3 separate regions of the Homo sapiens genome follow, and all the other regions are linked to region 1. The links are contacts of gene promoters, found by promoter capture Hi-C in blood cells and fetal thymus (Javierre and others, 2016). All regions are on one chromosome and are shown on one strand. The core of a region is centred on a gene start or on the middle of the fragment in contact, and the rest is flanking DNA. Distances in the headings are between cores, read along the strand shown.

The links. Contacts are between HindIII fragments. The CHiCAGO score rates a contact against its expected background, and 5 or more counts as called.
Region 2: a fragment that was not itself captured here is called in contact with the fragment with the promoter of RABEP1 in region 1 in 1 of 17 cell types (total B cells); the score reaches 5.2 in total B cells.
Region 3: a contact is called between a fragment that was not itself captured here and the fragment with the promoter of RABEP1 in region 1, in 2 of 17 cell types (fetal thymus and total B cells). The highest score is 7.7, in fetal thymus.

What each region holds. Positions count from the first base shown.
Region 1 is chr17:5,280,060-5,285,179 of GRCh38, reverse strand. RABEP1 (rabaptin, RAB GTPase binding effector protein 1) reads right to left here and starts at 2,896. Exons shown (of 18, transcript NM_004703.6): 1 at 2,660-2,896. The coding sequence starts at 2,693. RefSeq lists an enhancer at 91-609 and a silencer at 2,457-3,176. The HindIII fragment of the contact is 5,707 bases long and covers 1-3,679 here.
Region 2 is chr17:5,450,574-5,455,693 of GRCh38, reverse strand. It overlaps DHX33 (DEAH-box helicase 33), which reads left to right. Exons shown (of 12, transcript NM_020162.4): 6 at 423-534; 7 at 1,714-1,873; 8 at 2,026-2,114; 9 at 4,760-4,887. Among named protein-coding and RNA genes, the nearest start is that of C1QBP, 14 kb to the right of the region's middle. The HindIII fragment of the contact is 6,981 bases long and covers 1-5,120 here.
Region 3 is chr17:5,433,465-5,438,584 of GRCh38, reverse strand. C1QBP (complement C1q binding protein) reads left to right here. Exons shown (of 6, transcript NM_001212.4): 2 at 312-462; 3 at 3,619-3,712; 4 at 4,818-4,916. Among named protein-coding and RNA genes, the nearest start is that of C1QBP, 3.1 kb to the left of the region's middle. The HindIII fragment of the contact is 4,188 bases long and covers 323-4,510 here.

The sequences.
Region 1 (5,120 bases), core at 1,647-4,146:
CTGAAATTTCTTTAACTATTAAAATTACCTGTATTCCAAATAAGTAAACTAAGATGCAGTATCAAAAACCCAAAACTTTTTTTAACTTACAAAATAATTACAATGAATAAAATGATTACATTTCATCCCTTCGATTTACACACAAATCGATTTTCCTAATCTACCATATGGCCATGAAAAACAGACAATATTTTTTTTTTTTTAAAAAGTCATCAAAGACAATCGCTTCTGAAACAGGATAAAACAAGATAAAGTCAAAGACTAAGCAGTTAGTTATCTTTCACCACCAGTTTGACACAAAAGAATTCTGGCGATTTTTTTTTTTTTTAATCAGCAGGACTAGGAAATTCAAACGTGCCTAAAGCTAAAATGGTCTACATGAGTTCAGCTAAAGACACAAATTAAATCCCCAAAAGCCGGACTCACGGGCTCACACCTACAATCCTAGCACTTTGGGAAGTGTAGGCAGGTGGATCCCTTGAGTTCAGGAGTTTGGGACCAGCCTAGGCAACATGGCAAAACGCCGTATCTACAAAAATACAAAAATTAGCTGGGAATAGTGGCATGCACCTGTAGTCACAGCTACTTGGGAGGCTGAGGTAGCAGGATTGCTTTGACCCCAGGAGGTCGAGGCTGCAGTGAGCCAAGATCGCGCCACTGCTCTCCAGCCTGGGCAACAGAGTGAGATACTGTCTCAAAGAAAAAAAAAAAAATTAAAATCCCCAAGATGAACTTCTAAGGCACTGACACAAGGCACTCAAACGTACCAAATTATCTCTCTCCTACTGTAAAAAGTAGCCATGGCTACCTACATTAATTTAAAATAAAAATTGCAATCTATGCAAACTAAATCTCATCCTAGAGTCACAAGATTTGAGAAATAGGAAAGAAACCTGAACTAAAATACCAAGAATACAAGATTTCCTAAAGCTAGTTTTCCCTAGCCTCGTTCAAGTGCTTAGTCACTTCTGCCTATTTACAAGGAAGACCATTTCATATCTTCAAAGAGGCAGGGAATTTTGATTCCAGACGGTCATGTCACCTGAGCTGCCCTAGACGTTTCTTTCCATGCAACTCAAGAGAAGGCAGCAGCCAGCTATGCATACCTACCACTCCTGTTCAGAACCACAAGCTCTCTGTATCTTGCCTCTGTGTGCAGTAACAAAGTGGGATTGTGGAAGAACAAAGTTTTCTTGCCTGACACCAAATGCAAAAGGTGATCATTAAAATGCAGCCTGAAGACATCCCAGTTTCCTCTCTCTGACAGCCCACCAAAAATGCTTCCCTTCCCTTCTCCTGGAACAGAAACAGCAAAGCAGGTTCTTATAAAAGTCTAAATGCTTACTGGACATCTCCCCTTAGGCAAGCAACAACACCCAAAACTACAGGCTAACAGGCTCTGAAGCACATTTCCCAGAGAGCAGCCAGAACCTTAAAATCTGATAACATGGTTTCAAGTTCCCCAAAGGCAAAAATAAAAAGTAAGGGTTTCACGAAAGGTTATTTTGAGACAACCCCAAGGAAAGCCAAGTTTTAAAGTACCTACTCCGTACCAAGCCCCTTTTCCCAACATTCTACTCTACTCACACTTAAAGATGCTAAGCACACACGCTGATTATAGAAATACACCAGAAAGTACTTTCACAACTAGATACAGTGGGACCTTGGAAAAGCCCAAGCACACTATTTCCAAACATCTATTCTAGGTGGTAAAACCTGGAACCATGTAGTCAATCTGTGAAGCACAGCTTAGTCCAATTTCCCAGAAGGTCACGAAGGGCTCTGACAACCAACTTTGATTATTTAGGATGGGGCCCTTTTTTCCTTCCAAGAATATAAATGACACATTTCTTCGACTTCACTTTTTTTTTTTTAGTTCCACAAGCAAATATCTTCAAGTAGTGCAAGTAGGCCTCAGCATTCTCAAACACTATTCTCATTATTCCTAATACCTCCATAATACTATTATTGTATATACACATTCGTGTTGCTATTTTTATAGATAAAATATAAAGGCATGAATTAACCTCTTGGTTAATTCGTGGGTGAGAATACTGAGGCTCAACGAGGCTAAGAAATGAGCCCAGAGCTTGCTGGTTAAGAATACAGGTCCTCTAGACTCCCAGGCCCCAACACTTAACCATTAAGCCACACTGCCATTCAGGGAATGCTACTAAATCCAGTTACTGTACACAACTACTTTCAGGTCACATAACTGGGTGCAAAGAGTTCTATAGCAAGGATTGGGGCGGCAGGGAGGGTACACTACCTAAGCTAAGATTTTTTTTCTTTAACGAATATAGCACATGTTCCCGATTTCCATCCTCCCCCACGGGCAGAACCCACGTGCCGGTCCCCCGCTACCCAGAACCGCTCCCTCCCCACACTACCCCACGCTACCCAGCAGCCTCCCCACGCCCTTCCCTCTGCCCTCCCGCAAGCGCTGCACCCGCGCCTCCCGCCCCCTCCCCAGCGACGGCAGCCGGGGCGCCCGCGCCGCCCTCGCGCGCCGCAGCCCGCGCGCCCCCGCCTCCGCCCGGCGGGGTCACCCCCGGGGCCTGCGCGCGCCCTTGCCGCCGCCTGCCCGCCCCGAAATCCTCCCGCGACGCCGACGCCGGGCAGGCCGCGCCCGCCGCGCCTGCCATGGTGGGCGCCTCACCGTCAGGCTGGGAAGCCGGGCCCGGCTGCGCCATGACCAGGCGGCCGGCCTCGGGGAGCGGGGATGGGCGGGGAAGCGGCGTCCTGGGCTCCCGCGGGCTCAGCTGGCGGAGGAGGCGTCAACCGAGCCGCCGCCGCCGCCGCCCAGAGAGAAACCGCTAAGGCTGGATCCGCCGGCGCCGCCACAGCCGCGGGCAGAGACGGACCCGACCGCCGACCTCCGCCTCCTCATCCTGACAGCGGGAAATAAGCAGTGCGCAGGCGCAGGGGGATGGGGCGGCACGTGACGTTGGCCCGAGGGGAGGGGCGGGGCCTCGGGAGCGCGGAGGGAGCGCGGAGGGAGCGCGGAGGGAGCGCGGAGGGAGCGCGGAGGGAGCGCGGAGGGAGCGCGGAGGGAGCGCGGAGGGAGCGCGGAGGGAGCGCGGCGGGAGGGGAGGGTTTCGGCGGAGCTGGGCGCCTGACCCAGCGGCGCGGGGAGGCTGAGTGCCGAGCGGAGCTGGAGAAGAGGGGCTGCAGCAGAGGCCTGGCCTCTCGAAGGTGCCGGTCCCGGTTCTCCACCCCAGCACAGTGAGGGGAAAAAAAAAAATGAGTAAGAGAGGAGGACCGATGGCGGGGTGCAGTTCCAGCCTCTACCTCTTCTAGCTTTGCGACCTTGGGAGAGTCACTTCACCTCTTGGAATTTTTATCAATATAATGGCTAAGAAAAGTTTAAACGAGGTAATAAAGTATGAAGAACTGTTTCCGACAGTACTGGGCCTGGACCCCAGGTCTTCTGGTGCAGAGGCCAGTATACTATCCATTCAGCAAATACGTTTGGGTTTTCAGTCGTGATAGATGCTGGAGATACAGCCAGGTACAGACCCTGCACTCATGGCAGGAAAGGAGAAATCATATACACAAAGTGTGGCCCTTATACTTGGGCCCCTGGGCCCTATACTTTAGGAACTCCCCTCTAATCACCACTCCCCGTCTGATTTCGACACCTGGAGTGCCCCATGCCAAGGAGGTAGTTTAAAAAGCTTTTTTTTTTTTTTTGGAGATAGAGTCTCACTCTGACACCCAGGCTGGAGTGCCATGGTGCGATCTCGGCTCACTGCAACCTCTGCCTCCCGGGTTCAAGCAATTCTCCTGCCTCAGCCTCCCGACTAGCTGGGACAACAGGCGCACGCCACCACACCCGGCTAATTTTTGTATTTTTAGTAGAGACGGGGTTTCACTATGTTGGTCAGGCTGGTCTCAAACCCTTGACCTCGTGATCCGCCTGCCTCAGCCTCCCAAAGTGCTGGGATTACAGGCGTGAGCCACCGCGCCCGGCCTAAAAAGCTATTTTGAAATCAGAGAGGAGCATCAGGAATTATGTACATTTTAAGACCCAGCAATCCCACCCCAGGATGAGGGAGTCCACAGGGTTTGGCACTTCAGGACCAAGTTCTGAATACTTGTGGCCCCAGAATTCCCTTTCCAGATGGCTGAAGCTGTGGTCTCTTTCCCAGATCCATTCTCTCTATGGCAGAGTCTAGACATCCCTAAAAGAAGCTAAAGTGAAAGCATAAAGAATGAGTTCATGTCCTTTGCAGGGACATGCATGAAGCTGGAAACCATCATTCTCAGCAAACTAACACAGGAAAAGAAAACCAAACACCTCATGTTCTCACTCATAAGTGGGAATTGAATAATGAGAACACATGGACACAGGGAGGGGAACATCACACACCGGGGCCTGTGGGGGGTGGGGGGAAGGGGAGGGAGAGCATTAGGACAAATACCTAATGCATGCGGGGCTTAAAACCTAGATGACGGGTTGATAGATGCAGCAAACCACCATGGCACATGTATACCTATGTAACAAACCTGCACGTTTAGCACATGTATCCAAGAATTTAAAGTATAATAAAAAAATAATAATAGGCCGGGCACAGTGGCTCACGCCTGTAATCCCAGCACTTTGGGAGACTGAGGCAGGTGGATCACGAGGTCAGGAGTTCAAGATCAGCCTCTCCAAGATGGTGAAACCCCATCTCTACTAAAAATACAAAAAATTAGTCGGGTGTGGTGGCAGGCGCCTGTACTCCCAGCTACTCGGGAGGCTGAGGCAGAGAATTGCTTGAACCCAGAAGGCGGAGGTTGCAGTGAGCCAAGATCGCACCACTGCCAGCCTGGGCGACAGATCGAGACTCCATCTCAAATAATAATAATAATAATCAGAAAATCCACTAATTAGAATCAGTTTCTACTTTCTTTAAATCATTTGTTTTAAATAAGGTATACTTTTATTAAAATGATTATTTCTCACTGAAAAAAAGGGAGGCTAAAGGGCAGCTTTGTTTTATTTTAAGGGGGTGACACGACACTTGGGTGTTTGAGCTCCTATGTCCACAGATCCCTCATGGTGCAGGACAGAGGTGAGAAAAGAAGGCAAGTGAGCCAAGAGACAATAGTTGGGCCAGGGCCTGTGCTGCTTT
Region 2 (5,120 bases), core at 1,193-3,692, 170 kb before region 1:
TTTGCCGTGCCAGGCACTGTGCTAGCATTTATATCCACTGTCTGTCATCCTCGTGGGAACCGGCAAGGCAGGTTATGATCCCATGGGGATCCTGAGGCCCCAAGAAGGGAAGTAACAATTGCTCAAGGGGGCGCATAGTAAGTCACTGGCAGGGCCACGATTCCAACCCACATCTACTTGCTTCTGATTCCTGTGCTTGTTCCACTGCATCTCATTGCCTCAAATTGACCTTTAAGACTGCAGCGTCCCCTTCCCCTGCCCGGTTTAATGACCAACCATTAATATTAATGACTGCCATTAATAATGGAGTCATCTTCTGTTGGTCAAGAGTGAATTGTGGAAGTTAATGGTGAGAATATGTTTGAAGACTTCTGAATCATCCGTGTGTCAATGCGGCTTTTTGGTTTTCTTCCTCCTTTTAGGGCTATCGCAAAGTGATCATTTCAACCAACATCGCTGAAACCTCCATAACCATTACAGGAATAAAATATGTAGTTGACACGGGCATGGTTAAAGCAAAGAAGTATAACCCTGGTGAGAATTTGTAGTTCATGAATGTCTCTCCTGTGTCTAGTGAGCAGCCACTGAAACTGTAGTCCCACAGTTTTCCCCTGAGTGTTTCATGTTTGTAACTAACAAATTCAGGTGGCAGGCGCCATGAGTGAGATCACCTACACTCCAGGTCCGCGAAGGAGTCCTGAGGCGGGTATGTGAGACAGGAAGTAGAGGCAGGAAAGAAGAGCCCAGGTTGAGCAAACTTGGGCACACAGGGTCAGGGACCTGGGCAGAGGGTCTGGTACCCCATCAGAAGTCGGCTCTAAGGCCAGGGACAGCTGGGTGTCAATCAAAGGGTGTCATCAGAAACTATATATATATGGCTGGTTTGAGCTCCCAGGTTTCTCAGGAAGGAACCAGATCTCCTGGCTGAGGTGAGGCATGGAAGGAGCACTGGCTTCTCCTAAGAAGGTGCAGTGAGAAGCTAACTTAAGGTCATCTTGACTCATGTCTGTTTTATACTTTGCTTTATTCCACAGAGGATTTGAGACCACTGAAATTATTGCTCCCAATTATTGAACTGAAATGCTCTAGTAAACATTTGAGGGTCCTGGCTTCCACAGGTGTATCTTTTTGTGATGACGTAGGTGAAAGAGCTTGGGTCTCCAGTGCCAGGCTAATGATACACCTTTATCAAGAAAATGAACCTCATTTACTGCTAGAAAACAGACATCACATTATTTCTGTCTTACAGCAGAACTGGGAGGGAGGATAAAGCACACAAGTGATTTGAGGCATTTAATTTCGTAGTCATTGATTGATAGTATGACCCCCATCCTAGTTTGCTGAAACTCCCAGTTTTAGCACCCAAAATCCGACATCCCAGGAAACCCTCTGTCCCAAGCAAACTGGAGGGGTTGGCCATCCTACCATCTAAGGCAAGACCTCGGAAACTACTCTTCTCGCCCCTTGCTGCATGCGTGAGGTTTTTCTGATGTTTTTGTAACAGATTTCACAGTGGGCTTATGGCAAAGCCTTGTTTCACTAGGGCCAAACCGCTGCGGAGCAGTCTGGTTTTGTGCTGTCCATTGTGCTAGCCTTGAGGCTTTCTGGACCCCCGTGTTGCTGAAAGAACCACTGGTGTGCTTCTTTTTATCGACACTGTAGAAAGAGTTTGTTCATGTGATGAAGCACTAATGGGGCTCACTCTCCATCCAGACAGTGGTCTTGAGGTGTTAGCAGTGCAGCGGGTATCGAAGACGCAGGCTTGGCAGCGCACAGGGAGGGCTGGCAGAGAGGACAGTGGCATCTGCTACCGGCTCTACACGGAGGACGAGTTTGAGAAGTTTGATAAGATGACCGTGCCAGAGATCCAGAGGTAGGCACCAGTTGCTCCTGCACTGCTGCTGTTTGTCACCATGTCTCTCCTGCTTGCCCAGAGCTGCAGTTTTTACTCACACTCCACCATGAGGGGTTCTGACTCAATGGCAGAGGGATCAGGTCATGACCCTGGTCTCATGCTCTTCACAGGTGTAACCTGGCCAGTGTGATGCTTCAGCTTCTAGCAATGAAAGTCCCAAATGTGCTCACCTTTGACTTCATGTCGAAGCCATCTCCAGGTAAGTGAAATCCACAGTTTTGCAGAAGGTGGGTGAGGAGACAAACAACAACAAATGGACACTTCCAAAAAAATAAAGTATATTGGTCATCTCCTTTTGTTTATTTAATTTTGTGGATGACAACATTAGTTATTAGAGAAGCATCTGAAAATCATGAAATGATAGATAGATACATTGATTGACTTTTAAAGAGACAGGGTCTCACTGTGTGGCCCAGGTGGAGGTGCAGTGACTATTCACAGGCTCCATCACAGCCTCCAACTCCTGGGCTCCAGCGATCCCCCCGCCTCAGCCTCCCAAGTAGCTGGGACCACAGGCATGCGCCAGTGTTCCTAGCTATGAAACGATAGATTCTGTACTATCAGCACCATCAATAAAGTTCCTTGACCTCTGGAACCAGTGAAGGTCATCATGCGAGTCCTTGGGATACTACAGAAATGTAATGAAATTGTACTTTTATCAGCACAGGGACTGCAAAGATCACATTTCTTTGCCTTTAACTGGAATTTGATCCATCTCTCCTGTTCATTAGTAATTTCTCTACAGAAGAAGAAAATAATTGGAAATATTTATGATATTGGCTTTGGCACCTGGCCTCTCATCAACGCACCATTTTCCTTTTCTTTTTATTGCCCCCCCTTTTCTTAAGAAATGCAATTGGTTTAAAAAAGAAGGAAAGAAAACACAAAGTCACCAGTTGATGGGTATACAAGGGTCCTGCCCTGATCCTCAGGTTCACAGTTTCCTTCCCCTAGAACAACCACTGGAACCATTTTCTAGTAGACTTCTAGAGCAAATGTATGCATATATGAGTATATGTAGTGTGTTTGATTTTATTTATGTATTTATTTATTTATTTTTGAGACAGGGTCTCACTCTGGTTGTCCAGGCTGGAGTGCAGTGGCACATTCTCAGCACACTGCAGCCTCAACCTCCCGGGCTCAGGTGATTCTCCCACATCAGCTTCCCAAGTAGCTGGGACTACAGGTGTGAGCCACCAAGCCCCTGCTGTAGTATGTTTTTGTTTTTGTTTTTGTTTTGAGACAGGGTCTCACTCTGTTGCCCAGGCTGGAGTGCAGTGGTGCGATCCCAGCTCACTGCAACCTCCACCTGCCGGGTTCAGGTGATTCTCCTGCCTCAGCCTCCCGAGTAGCTAGGACTACAGGTGTGCACCACCATGCCCGGCTAATTTTTGTATTTTTTAGTATAGATGGAGTTTCACTATGTTGACCAGGCTGGTCTTGAACTCCTGACCTAGGTGGTCCGCCCACCTCGGTCTCCCAAAGTGCTGGGATTACAGGCGTGAGCCACCACGCCCAGCCTGTAGTATGTTTTAAAACACAAATAGCAACACACATTGAGTATTGTTCTGTGCTTGATTTTTTTTCTTTCATTGCTAAATTCTTACATACAAATGAAGAAGATACATAAGGTGTAAGGAATGGTTAAAATCTAACACCTGTGTACCCAATTGAAGCCCCCAGGAGTCCCCCCCACCCACTTGCCCTCGCCTCCTTCCACTCTTTTGGGGTACCCACTCTTCCATATTTTGTTTGTAATTGCCTTGCTTTTCTTCACTGTTTTACTATATGCGTATGTATCCCTAAACCACCTGTTGTTTGTAAGTTTATGTTAGTTATTCTTGAGTAAGCGGTTTTCATTCAGCTTGTTCCGTATAGTATATTTGTGCTGATGCTTTTTCACACTAAGTGCTATTCCATTCTGTGAATAAACCAAAATGCATTTATCCATCCTTCAGTTGATAAATATTGCTTTAAAAAAGCAATGAGAAACACACTGCTTTTTTTCATTTAATACATTTTACAGATCACTCCTTATTGGGATGTATATATTTACTACATCCTTAGAAATGCTTTTTTATTCTTTAATAGGTACTATATTTACATGGTTCAAAGTTTAAAATATATAAAATAGTAAATAGTAATAATGTCCTTCTCATCCCCTTGTCTCCCAGCCTCCCCAGCTGGCCCCTGAGACAACTGCTATTTCCACTGTTATGTGTTTGGTTCTGGCGATATGGTCTCTGTGCGATGTGTATCTGCAGGTGAAATTCGTAAGTGTAACATTGCTGGGTCAGATGTTACACTTTTAATGTGTATATTCAAAATCTACATACATATTGCCAAATTACAGGTCATTTAAAAAGAAAATTGAGGCTGGGCATGGTGGCTCACACCTGTAATCCTAGCACTTTGGGAGGTCAAGGTGGGCAGATCACCTGAGGTCAAGAGTTTGAGACCAGCCTGGCTAACATGGTGAAACCCCGTCTCACTAAAAATACAAAAATTAGCTGGGCGCGGTGGTGGGCGCCTGTGGTCCCAGCTATAGGGGAGGCTGAGGCAGGAGAATCGCTGGAACCCAGGAGGCAGAGGCTGCAATGAGCCGAGATCACGCCATTGCACTTCAGTGTGGGCAACAGAGCAAGACTCTGTCTCAAAAAAGAAAAGGGAATTGAACTAAAGACAGTGATGTCGTTCTTTGACAAGTGTGTCAAGGGGGCAGTGGCGGTTATGATTTTTGCTGTTGTTTGATGTAGAATTATCAGAAGCTCCCAGAAATACTGAACTAGCTGCAACTTCATTTTTTTGGACTTTTGGCTCCTTTTTATGTCTCTGTTTCTTTAGATCACATTCAGGCGGCCATTGCCCAACTGGACCTGTTAGGTGCTCTTGAACATAAGGATGACCAGCTTACCCTGACTCCAATGGGAAGAAAGATGGCAGCATTTCCTTTAGAACCCAAATTTGCCAAAGTAAATGATACCCTCTCCTCAGTCCTCTTTCTGTACATTACAGTTAACCGTCCCAAAGTAGTACCATCTACCCAGTGCTTCTAGATTAATCTCACTTTTTCTCTTACATAATTACCAACCCCTAGTTTGCAAATAGCCCTGATTCATGTTCAGTGTGGGATTCAAAGAGATGAAGTTAAGAGCCCCTACCCACAAGAAATTTGGAACTCTGTAGGGAAGGCAGTCACCTGTTT
Region 3 (5,120 bases), core at 1,167-3,666, 150 kb before region 1:
GGAAGGCCCATGGTCGTGGTTGAAAATAGCATAGTTATATCGTTTGGCAAGTGGAAGAGGATTGGAAATTCTCCTGGTTTATAGCGGAAAGTGGTAATGCGTTCATTGTTGGAAATCACTTTTCCAGAATCAGGCTCAGCTTCCTACTACTATTATGGTATTTTTACCGATAAGGAAACAGGCTTCTAGAGTAACCGTAATAGCAGAGAGATTAGAAACAGTCCAGGTTTCTGGCTGCAATAACCTGGGTAATAGTTTTATGTTTTAGACTAACTGGCTTTCCTTTTTATGTATCTGGATTTCTTTTCTAGGAGACAAAGCTTTTGTTGATTTCCTGAGTGATGAAATTAAGGAGGAAAGAAAAATTCAGAAGCATAAAACCCTCCCTAAGATGTCTGGAGGTTGGGAGCTGGAACTGAATGGGACAGAAGCGAAATTAGTGCGGAAAGTTGCCGGGGAAAAGTAAGTACTGGTCTGGGGATCCCAGGGCAGCAACTCCCTTAACCTTGCAGGACCCATCCTGGGTCATCCCCAGAAGAGCCTTGAGTTCAGGTGTGGATACTTTGATAAATGGGTTTCAAGAGAGTGAAGGATTCATTTGGACAACTTCGTAAGCCCCAGGCAGTCCATTCACCGAACACAAATTTGCTGTGGGCTGGTTACTAAGGAGACAAAAATGTAGTGCAAAAAAGTACTGGCAGAATCAGTTTGATCTCTGATTTACAGCCCTGATAAAATAGGACACTGCTCTCTAATGTTTAGTATGGGTGAAAATGAAAAATATGTAACTTCTATGTAACAGGATGGGGTTACACTGTAGTAAGGGCTGCCATCAGAGGTGGGGAGTTTGTGACCTAAGTCAGCTCCCCCATCATCTCCTAAACTGTTAAAGTGTTTACACTTTTCTGCATTATAGTCATCCATAATCTCATTACACAGATAAACATTTGGCATCTTCCAGGTTTTTAAATTGAGCCTGGGCGCGGTGGCTCACACCCATAATCCCAGCACTTTGGGACGGGCAGATCATGAGGTCAGGAGAAAATCCTGGCTAACACTAAAACCCTGGCTCTAGTAAAAATTAACCGGGTATGGTGGCACGTGCCTGTAGTCCCAGCTACTCGGGAGGCTGAGGCAGGGGAATCGCTTGAACCTGGGAGGTGGAGGTTGCAGTGAGTCGAGATCGCGCCACCGCGCTCCAGCCTGGGCAACAGAGCAAGACGCCATCTCAATAATAAATAAATAAATTGAATTTCCTTCATAATTGACCTTATGATGTGTATGTAATTTTTTTAAATCACAGCTTTTATGAGATTTAATTGAGATGGCATACGATTTACCCATTTATTGAAGTTTATTAAATTAAGTGGTTCTTAGTCCTCGCAGAATTATGCATCAGTTATCACTACCTAATTCTAGAACACTGTTGTCATCCCCAAACAATACCTATTAGCAGTCACTCATTATTCCTCCCTGTAGCCACCCCAGGTAATCACTAAGCTACTTTCTCTATGGGATTGCCTCTTTTGGACATTTCATATAAATGGAGTCATACAATTTGTAGCTTCCCCCCCCAACCCCACGGAGTCTTGCTCTGTCACCCAGGATGGAGTGCAGTGGTGCGATCTTGGCTCACTGCAACCTCTGCCTCCCAGGTTCTGACAATTCTCCTGCCTCAGCCTCCTTAGCTGGGATTACAGGCGTGCGTCCGGTTAATTTTTGTATTTTTAGTAGAGACAGGGTTTCACCGTGTTGGCCAGGCTGGTCTCAAAGTCCTGACCTCGTGATCCGCCCGCCTTGGCCTCCCAAAGTGCTGGGATTTCAGGTGTGAGCCACCCTGCCCACCCTATTTACCTTTTTAATTGTTGGGTTGTAAAAGTTAAGTTTTTCTGGGTACAACTATCTTATCAAATTAATGATTTGTAAGTACTGTTTCCCATCTTGTGGGTTTCCTTTTCACTTTCTTGGTAATGTCCTCTGACACAAAAGTTTTTAATTTTGAGGAAGTTCAGTTTACCTATTTTTTTGGTCGCTTGTGCTTTTTTATTTATTTTTTACTTTGCTTCTAATTCACCAAGTGCAACTTGTGCTTTTTTAGTGTCACGTCTAAGAAACCACTGCCTAACCCAAGGTTGTGAAGATGTATGCCTTAATTTTTTCAAAGTTTTCTAGTTTTAGCTCTTAGTTTAGGTCTGTGATTCATTTTGAATATGGTGTGAAGTAGGGTCCTGATTCTCTTGCCTGTTGCATAGTGTGTTTTTGCCCTACACAGGTCAATTGTGTCTTCTGTAATCTCACCTAAACACCATTTGCGCAAGGTTTTCATAGCTATTTGGGGGCCATTAAAAATAATGCTCTGATGAACGTCATTCAATTTCTGTGCCCAGGAGCTCAGCTTAGTCAGCACAGTTGGAATTAGACAGATTTTGTCAACCTCAGACTGCCTCTGTTGCCATGGAAAGGTGGCTTCCTGGCAGAGCAGCTAGTTAGCACAAGTGGAGGGCGGCACTTCATGTACTCTTTTTTTTTTTTTTTTTTTTCTGACAGAGTCTTGCTGTGTCTCCAGGCTGGAGAGCAGTGGCGTGATCTCGGCTCACTGCAACCTCCACCTCCCAGGTTCAAGCAATTCTCCTGCCTCAGCCTCCTGAGTAGCTGGGATTACAGGCGCGTACCACCACGCCCAGCTAATTTTTTTTTTTTTTTTTTTTTTGTATTTTTTAGTAGAGATGGAGTTTCATCGTGTTGGCCAGGATGGTCTCGATCTCTTGACCTCGTGATCTGCCCACCTCGGCCTCCCAAAGTGCTGGGATTACAGGCGTGAGCCACTGCGCCCAGCCTTCATGTACTCTTGTGTGGAATGGTGCCTGCCAGAGTTGCATAGCCCAGCAGTTTTGGTTCTAAACCTTATGTCCCAAGAATTTTGACTCAAACTTTGGAACATGATTTGTCAGGTGTGGATTCTTGCACCTTAAAATTGTCACTAGTTGGTGTGTCTGGCCTGCTTTGTGATTATGAAACTTCCCACAAGTACTCTAAGGGATGAGTCTCTACTACAGCCCTTGTTCTTTGTGAGGCATTCCCTTCCCCGTTCCAGGGCTGCTCTCGGTGTTTAGCAGAGGCACCCTCCATCGCTTCTTCCTTTCCTTGCAGGGCAAATTTTCTGACGGGGAAAGTCTCTTAAAGGGGCTTCTGTTCCATCTCACCAGCCTCTCAGGTCCTTACTTTGACCAAGGGTTCCCTGGAAAGACCAGGGTGGGCAGTGTCAGCTGGCTGTGGCCATGAGATGCCCAGTCAGCACATGGCAGTGAGCCCTGGGGTACTGGCCCTGTTGGGAGTAACCCATGCATGACTTGTTTGGCTGAGATAAACTGAGGCCAGCTTTGGCTTCCAGCAGCTGGTACATGGTAGGCACACTTCAGACCTGCTGAGTCACTCAGGATTGGATGTAGGCACCCAGCCTAGTTTGAAGTTCTGCATATAATTCAGCCAGCTAGGACAGAGACATTGTTTCAATACGCCTTTTTAACTGTAGCAGATTTCCATGTTTATGTGTTAACCTGCTCGGTTAAAACCATGCCTTGTCTGTTTTGCCTTGTCTGTTTTCCCTTGCCGTTTTAGAATCACGGTCACTTTCAACATTAACAACAGCATCCCACCAACATTTGATGGTGAGGAGGAACCCTCGCAAGGGCAGAAGGTTGAAGAACAGGAGGTAAGCTAATACTATAATCAGCTTTTACCTCAGTTCTGACAGGCTGTGCCTGGGGCTTAGAGGAGGAGCGTTTTTCTTTGGTCTTTCAAAAAAAAAAAATTCCTCTAAGTCCAGTCGCATGGCTCACGCCTATAATCCCAGCACTTTGGGAGGCCGAGACGGGCAGATCACGAGGTCAAGAGATCGAGACCATCCTGGCCAACATGGTGAAACCCCGTCTCTACTAAAAATACAAAAATTAGCTGGGCATGGTGGCAGGTCCCTGTAATCCCAGCTACTCGGGAGGCTGAGGCAGGAGAATCGCTTGAACCCGGGAGGCAGAGGTTGCGGTGAGCCAAGATCACACCACTGCACTCCAGCCTGGCGACAGAGCAAGACTCTGTCTCAAAAAAAAAAAAAAAAAAAAAAGAGAGAGAGAATGGCAGGGGCATAAGAGACTTTAACTGGATCATGCCTACTCTTCAAACATTTCAGGAAGTGCTGTGCCCAGCCTAGTAACCAGCCAGTATGAGGGCCACAGAGTCCCTAGACATTCTGCCCAAGAGCCATCAGTACAGTGTTGGGTCATGACCTGGTGTGGACGGCGCAGCTCTCTGGTGTGCTGCTTTCCCAGCCACCCCAACTAGCATCTCCCTGACGTTGGACCCAGTCTGCTCCCAGAGCTCCGCATCAGAGGAAAAGCTGCTGCTGTTATTCAGCCATAAGGATGGCCAGGTTCCCCAGCCTTTGACCCTGGTCCCTTATGAAGACTCCTGGAACAGTCAAGCTGGAAAGAGATCTTGAAACTTTAGGAAAGCTTTGCAGTGTACGGGTGGAGGAAAAGGCTTGGAATGTTAAGGGACTGATATAAACTCAGTTAATTGGCACATAGCTGAGGCTGGTATCCACATTTCTTAACTGAAAACCCAGTGTGTTATTTAACCAAGCAGGGTGCCAACAGAAGTGAGATCAAGCTCTTCATTTGGGAATAGTATGGCATAAGACTATTCAAATGGCTACATAATATCCTAATAGTGGTGGCCATCAGACACTCTGAACAGAGATCCTTGATCCAGCCATCCATCTCCTTCCAGCAGCAGCATGTATTGACTTCTTGTTTCCCCAGCCTGAACTGACATCAACTCCCAATTTCGTGGTTGAAGTTATAAAGAATGATGATGGCAAGAAGGCCCTTGTGTTGGACTGTCATTATCCAGAGGATGAGGTATGCAGGATGGAGTGCTAGCCTCTTGGCACCCCTGGGGAACAGTGTGTCCCTTGGGAACTTCCTGTCCCTATTTTAGCAGAAATTTAAACACTTTTCTAGCTTAGACCAGCCCAGCAGGGGGAGAGAGGTGGGGAGTGAGGGAAGAGGGTTAAAACCTGATGAGTTTCATGCTGTCAGTGGCCCCCTTTCTTCCCCTGAGTC